Linked DNA regions of Homo sapiens: region 2 is linked to region 1. Evidence: promoter capture Hi-C in 16 types of primary human blood cells and fetal thymus (Javierre and others, 2016). All regions are on one chromosome and are shown on one strand. Each heading gives the region's core, a stretch centred on a gene start or on the middle of the fragment in contact. The rest is flanking DNA. Distances are from core to core; before and after follow the strand shown. Region 1 holds the start of HACL1 (2-hydroxyacyl-CoA lyase 1). Region 2 has its middle 13 kb from the start of ANKRD28.

Region 1 (2,937 bases), core at 26-2,525:
CTAACACCGTCCACATATGCAGGGAGGCAACCACTTCACTCTCCTCTGCTTGGGGTGGGGTTGAGGGGTTGAGAAAAAGAGGGGAAGACCTTTTGAAAAGACCCAGGACTACAGTTTGAAAATGTCTGGGTTTAGAAATCGTTTCACTTCCAGTGCTTCTCACTCATTTCACTACCCATGACCCACTCCCCTCTCATCTCTTTACTGTCCACTTATCACTGTTCTTTTTGCTTAAAATGACTCCAAATCCTCAAAAAATTAAAAGTTCCACTGTTTATTACAATTGGAAATTTTATGTTTATTGTCACTGAGCAGAGGGTCTAATGACTCCAAGGCAGTAGTTTCAGATATTGCACATTGCAAACGATTTTCACACAAAAATGTTTTAAAAGGCTATCGGGTGCAGGGCTGGTTGTAGGTAGGGACCCAACCTAAGAATTATGAAACGCCATAGTTCCTAATTTTGGAAAGATATTAGCGGAGAGTAATATGGATTAGTAGCAAGGGCTGGAGAAAACAGTGCTCTATACTACCTTCAAGGTGCTCTTTTCATCGCTTGTGACCCAATGGCTGAATAGTGGGTAGGAAACAGGATTCAGGATCTCAGGCACGGTCTGGATCTACTGACTCTGAGCGTCATTTTATCTCTTGCTGGGGTACACATCTGCTTCTGGATTTAAGTAACGTGCGCTACAATAATTTAAGGACTATAAAACCACAAGGTTATGAGAGCGTAAACCACAAAGCGTGTAAGTAAATGCCTAGAAAACGCAACGCGGTAGCACAGCAGCAACGCACAAACAGCCCCAGCAAACGACGCGCGCCGGGCTTCCCAGCTCCCGGCAGCCTTTGCGCAGCCCTCCCCAAGTCCAACTGGGCGCCCGGGGCGGGGTCTGGACCGCACGCCCTTACCACACCCCCTCCGCGCCGCACCACGCCCCCTCCGTACCTGCTCTTAGCGCGCCTTCCGCCCTGAATATGCGCATGCGCCATTCTCCCTTTACAGCCCCGAAAACGCTCCAGCTGGCCGACTCGGAGACAATGGCGAGAGGCCTCAGAGTTCGGCTTCTTACCTGCTTTGCATAGGCAGCAATCTCCTGCTAGTCCCGCCTCCCTCTGGCATTCTGGCGCGCGAATGGAGGAGCCGAGAAGAGAGCGCAGTTCTGATTGGAGAACGCGCGTGTTTACATTCTCACCTCTCCCGGGAAGTGGACGAATTTAGACCGCCTCTTCCTTCCCGTTGTTTAAGGCAGTTGGTTGCCCTCCTGTCCGTCAGAGGTGCAGTACCAGAGGTGGCGTGCTGCCGATTTCGCGTTTGCCTTGCTGGATGATTCCGCTTGTTTGCCGGCTGCGTGAGTGCTTAGAGCTTTTCGGTGGAAGATGCCGGACAGTAACTTCGCAGAGCGCAGCGAGGAGCAGGTGTCTGGTGCTAAAGTCATCGCTCAGGCCCTGAAAACGCAAGTACGATGGACCTTCCTGGAATGAAAGGCTCCTACGGAAGCTGGCGGGGACCGCGATGTTGTCTTGGAGACGAGTAGAAATGGGCGATGGGGGTCGGGGGGTTTTCCTTTTAGCGCCCGGGAGGGAGGGAAGGATGTGGCGATATGGTGGGGCCTTGGGAGTTTACTCCCCTGTTCTTCGTTCCTCAGGATGTGGAGTACATATTTGGCATCGTAGGCATCCCAGTGACCGAAATCGCCATTGCTGCCCAGCAGCTAGGCATCAAGTACATCGGGATGAGGAATGAGCAAGCGGTGAGTATGGACTCAGGTGGCTGAATGCGTTACTGGGAATGATCAGTAATAGCGGTAGGTATGCATTGCAAACACCCAGATAGCGCTTACCACTCTTCTGCTACTTTACATATATCATATCAATCACTGTTGAATATTAACTGTTGTTACACCAAGTTGACAGATGAGAAAAGACACAGGTTAAGTAAAACTTGCCTTTGGTGACACAGCTGGTAGTAGCAGAGCCAGGGTTTGAACCCACGTATTCTGGGTCTGAGTCCATTCTCTTACTACTATACTGTATGTCATGATTGGAATGGACAGTTTATGAGTAAAGTCTGACTTCCCTATTAGGCTACAAGCTCCATTAGAGCAGGGATATTATTTCTTCACGACACATCTGTACCCCCAGTGCTTAGTGTGGTGCCTGCATAAGAAAGGTGTTCAGAGATTACCTGTGGGATAAATGAGTGAAGGCCAAGGCTTTGTTGTATGATTGGTTCGGGGCAGGGTGGAGGATATCACAAATGGTAGTGCCTTGATGGAAACTCAGATGGCTCAGATCCTAGCCTGATGCTTTTTCCACCACATCATGCTGCCACCTTTCTTAGAGGCTTATTTGGAAGCAGGATAAGGAAGATACGACGTTTTGTCAATCCACTTTAAGTGCATCCTCTGCCAATCCACCTTGCTCTTCTCTCAGTAGTGCGGGCTTGAAAGGTCAAGAATCCACTTCTGTGATATCACATACTCTCAGTCCAGCTGAGGCTAAATATTCCTGCTTTACACTCCCACCGTTGCCTTCTAATTTAAATTCTTGCCTCCTCTTGCCCAAACAACTGCCTGGCCACCCTAAGTGGTGCCTTTTGCCATCATACATGAGTGCCTGGAGGGCAGAAGTTGTGATTCATTTGTTATATCACCACAGTGCCTGGCTTGGTTTGTGCTTTCACGTGGTGTAGATGCTTAATATTATACATTATTTATTAATTGAATGACATTCTTTATTGAATGACATTCTTTATTGAATGACATTCTTTATCTACAAGGTTTGAGATTTGTATTTTTTAATCTTAAAACTAGGAGGTTTTGAGTTTCTGTTGCTTCTACATTTTACTTGTCTTTGTTAGAACAACATTCTGTTCTTTCATCTGTGTGAAAAAATGAAGCTATTGACCTATGAATGGAACCTATACTTAACTGT
Region 2 (3,290 bases), core at 274-2,773, 210 kb before region 1:
ACACACTTTTTAAACCATTTTCTAGCCTGTGGCTTAATAAAGGCTTTAGATGAATTTTAACAATGCCCCTATCCTAATTCTGTTCCCAAACGAGCATTTGGATAATTGGTAAGCAAGACAGAAAAACAACAACGAAATGCCAACTTAATATAGTAAAATTTGATTAAGAAAATGGTAACAAATAGCAGATACCCTCAGTATTATATAGCCAGTTTACCTTTTCTTTCCTGGAATGTGTGTTGGAGAAAAGGCAGAGTCACAAATCATTTAGCTAATTTTGCTTTTAATAACTGTATAAATTGTAATTATCATCTTTTACCACTGGATGGTGCTTTTCCATTGGTTACTGCAAACCCTTTCTAAATTTACCTAAGGGCACCATTTGAAAATTCATTTAAAAAACAAATGAAATTAAGATAATGGTATAGTTTCCCATCTCAGCCTCCCAAGTAGCTGGGACTACAGGTGTACACCGCTGTGCCCAGCTCTATGATGCCATCTTTGATTATCATCTTAGAAACATTTTATTGTTGTTTTGGGTTTCGTTTTGTTTTGTTTTGTTTTGTTTGCCAGAGTCTCACTCTGTTGCCCAGGCTGGAGTGCAGTGCCTCAATCTCAGCTCACTGCAACCTCAGCCTCCTGGGTTCAAGCGATTCTCCGACCTCAGCCTCCTGAGTAGCTGGGACTACAGGTGCGTACCACCACGCCTGGCTAATTTTTCTATTTTTAGTAAAGATAGGGTTTTGCTGTGTTGGCCAGACTGGTCTTGAACTCCTAACTGAAGTGATCCACCCACCTTGACCTCCCAAAGTGCTGGGATTACAGGCGTGAGCCACTGTGCCTGGCTTAGAAACATTTTAAATGTATTAACTTTTTAGGTGGTACTATCATTTACATGGCATCTATAGAAAACCACAATTTCTTAATTTATAAGGTTAAAATAAAGGTTTTAAAAAAATTGTCCCTGGCCAGGCGCAGTGGCTCACACCTGTAATCCCAGTACTTTGGGAGGCCAAGGTGGGCGGATCACGAGGTCAAGAGATCAAGACCATCCTGGCCAACATGGTGAAACCCCGTCTCTACCAAAAATACAAAAATTAGCTGGGCATGGTGGCGTGCACCTGCAGTCCCAGCTCCTCTGGAGGCTGAGGCAGGAGAATCGCTTGAACCCAGGAGACAGAGGTTGCAGTGACCTGAGATTGTGCCACTGCACTCCAGCCTGGGCAACAGAGCAAGACTCTATCTCAAAATAAAGAAAAATTGTCCCTGGTAATTATTTTGTCTTTTCTCCTATCCAGTAGCTGTTCAGACTCCTTTCACTGAAGCCCTTTTATTTCACAAATACTATTTTCAAATTCTGCTTTTTTAGCTACCAAATGACTTTTTGTTAGCTACCCTACTTAAATGAGTTGAGTACTTAAGTCTATAGAGTCTATTTGTGATTGTAACAGATTATGGAGATCTTAATTCAGGGAAATAATTTCTTCTAATAAAGCATTCTCTTATTCTTTTAAAGATCAAAATAAAACAGACTCTAGAATAACAGTGTCCCTTAACAACTTACTCTGAGGCCTTGTTTCTCCAGTCTGGTGTGCTGTTATTTCCTTTTCTGTTCTTTGTAGGGTTATTTAGATAAAAAATAAAGTCATAAAAACAAGCATCTTAAACTACCCTGTTCTGTAGTCTGCTCTTCATTTGCTATTTTATAGCTTTTGAGTTATGAATTTATAGGGGATTGTAGGTCAGCAAGTTTAAAGTCACTCACAGTAGGCTTGGTTTGCCTTTGAGTCTCAGGCTTACAGGAGTTATGGGTTAAATGACTGGCTTTGCAGGTTTGCTTCTTGGCAGTGAGTCTTCACATAGGCAGTGTTCAAGTTGTGGTCTTAACTCTTAGAATGTGAACTTTGTCATGTAACCACTCTAGGCCTTATTTTTCTTACCTATAAAGTTGTGATTTTGTTTAGCAAATAAGGATCATGGCTAAGGACAATGTTACTTAGGGGAAAAAAAAAAAAAAGGAGAGAACAAATTACTCATAATCCTGCCACTGACCTAACTCATGTAGTGTTGATGCTAAAAATGAAAAAGAAAAAAAGTCTTCTATTTAACGTAATTAAGATTATTTTGTTTATACTGCAGTGTTGTATTCCATATAATATTTTTTAGTATATCCCATGTTTTAGAAATTCTTTAAAGATTTTATTTTTAAATATTAGATATAGTTTCACTGTGTGATATATACTGTATTTTAAATCATTTTATTGTTCAGCATTTAAATTTTCAGTCTTTTGTTGTAAATAATGCTTCACTGAAATCTTGATATGTAAATTTTTATAGGCCTCACATTATTTTCTTATGTCTCAGTTCCTACAAGTAGAAATGCTAGCTTAAAGTTTGAAATACTTATCAATGGTATTGATAGCTGTTGGCAAGTTTTTTTTTTTTCTCCCAGAGAAGTTGTCCCAGTTTACTGTTTCACCATCCTACATGGCCTCTGGTTTAAACTAATTGTGATAGCCTACTGACTGTTTTCTCTGCCTTTAGTATCACCTTATTTTTAGGTCATCCTGACACTGTATGCACAGTAAGTTCTTTAAGATACAAGTCTTATTTTATAACTTTTTGCCTTAAAATTCTATAGGTTAAAGTGTATTTACTCGGTGTCATTCAACACCCTTCATGATCTCGCTGCTGTCTAATTTTCCACCTTATTTTATGCAAACCTATACATTTTGTGGATGAGGAGGTGGGAGGGGGATGTGCTAGGCAGAGGAAACAGCATCTGCAAGGGCATAGCTGCATGTAGTGGCATGGTATACTTGAATTGCAACAAGCACATTGATATATGTGAAACTTAAAGGCAGGCTGCTGGAAGTCTTTAGTATAGCATACTCAAACAAAATAGTTGACTAAATAAAAGTAGACAACATTTTATCTATGATTTAGAAAAGTAACTGGTGGTGTAGATAATTGTTAATCAGGACTTTTGGTTACAAATGACAGAAATCCAACTCAAATTGGCTTAAATGCAAAAGTATATTTACTGGCCAGGCAAGCAGAGCTAGATCCAGGACTTGGTGACAGTGGGTTTCCCATCCTCCCCCATTCTTTCATTCCTCCTATGAGCAGTTTTTGCTTACTGGGATTGTGTCCTCACAATCCCGAAAGAAAAGAGAGTATTTTTCTCTGATAGCCTTGGCAGGAAAGTGAAGTCCTGAGGAAGACATTGTCTAGTTTCAGTCATGTGCTCTTTCCTGAACGAGACATGTTGTTAGGGGTGGGTAGTACTC

Evidence for each region. Contacts are between HindIII fragments. The CHiCAGO score rates a contact against its expected background, and 5 or more counts as called.
Region 2: a fragment that was not itself captured here is called in contact with the fragment with the promoter of HACL1 in region 1 in 1 of 17 cell types (monocytes); the score reaches 6.1 in monocytes.

What each region holds. Positions count from the first base shown.
Region 1 is chr3:15,599,907-15,602,843 of GRCh38, reverse strand. It overlaps HACL1 (2-hydroxyacyl-CoA lyase 1), which reads left to right and starts at 1,275. Exons shown (of 17, transcript NM_012260.4): 1 at 1,275-1,461; 2 at 1,650-1,754. The coding sequence starts at 1,381. It overlaps BTD (biotinidase), which reads right to left and starts at 1,099. Exons shown (of 4, transcript NM_001370658.1): 1 at 950-1,099. RefSeq lists a silencer at 827-886 and an enhancer at 728-1,370. The HindIII fragment of the contact is 4,903 bases long and covers 1-2,937 here.
Region 2 is chr3:15,809,429-15,812,718 of GRCh38, reverse strand. It overlaps a transcript of ANKRD28 not described here. Among named protein-coding and RNA genes, the nearest start is that of ANKRD28, 13 kb to the right of the region's middle. The HindIII fragment of the contact is 4,948 bases long and covers 1-3,290 here.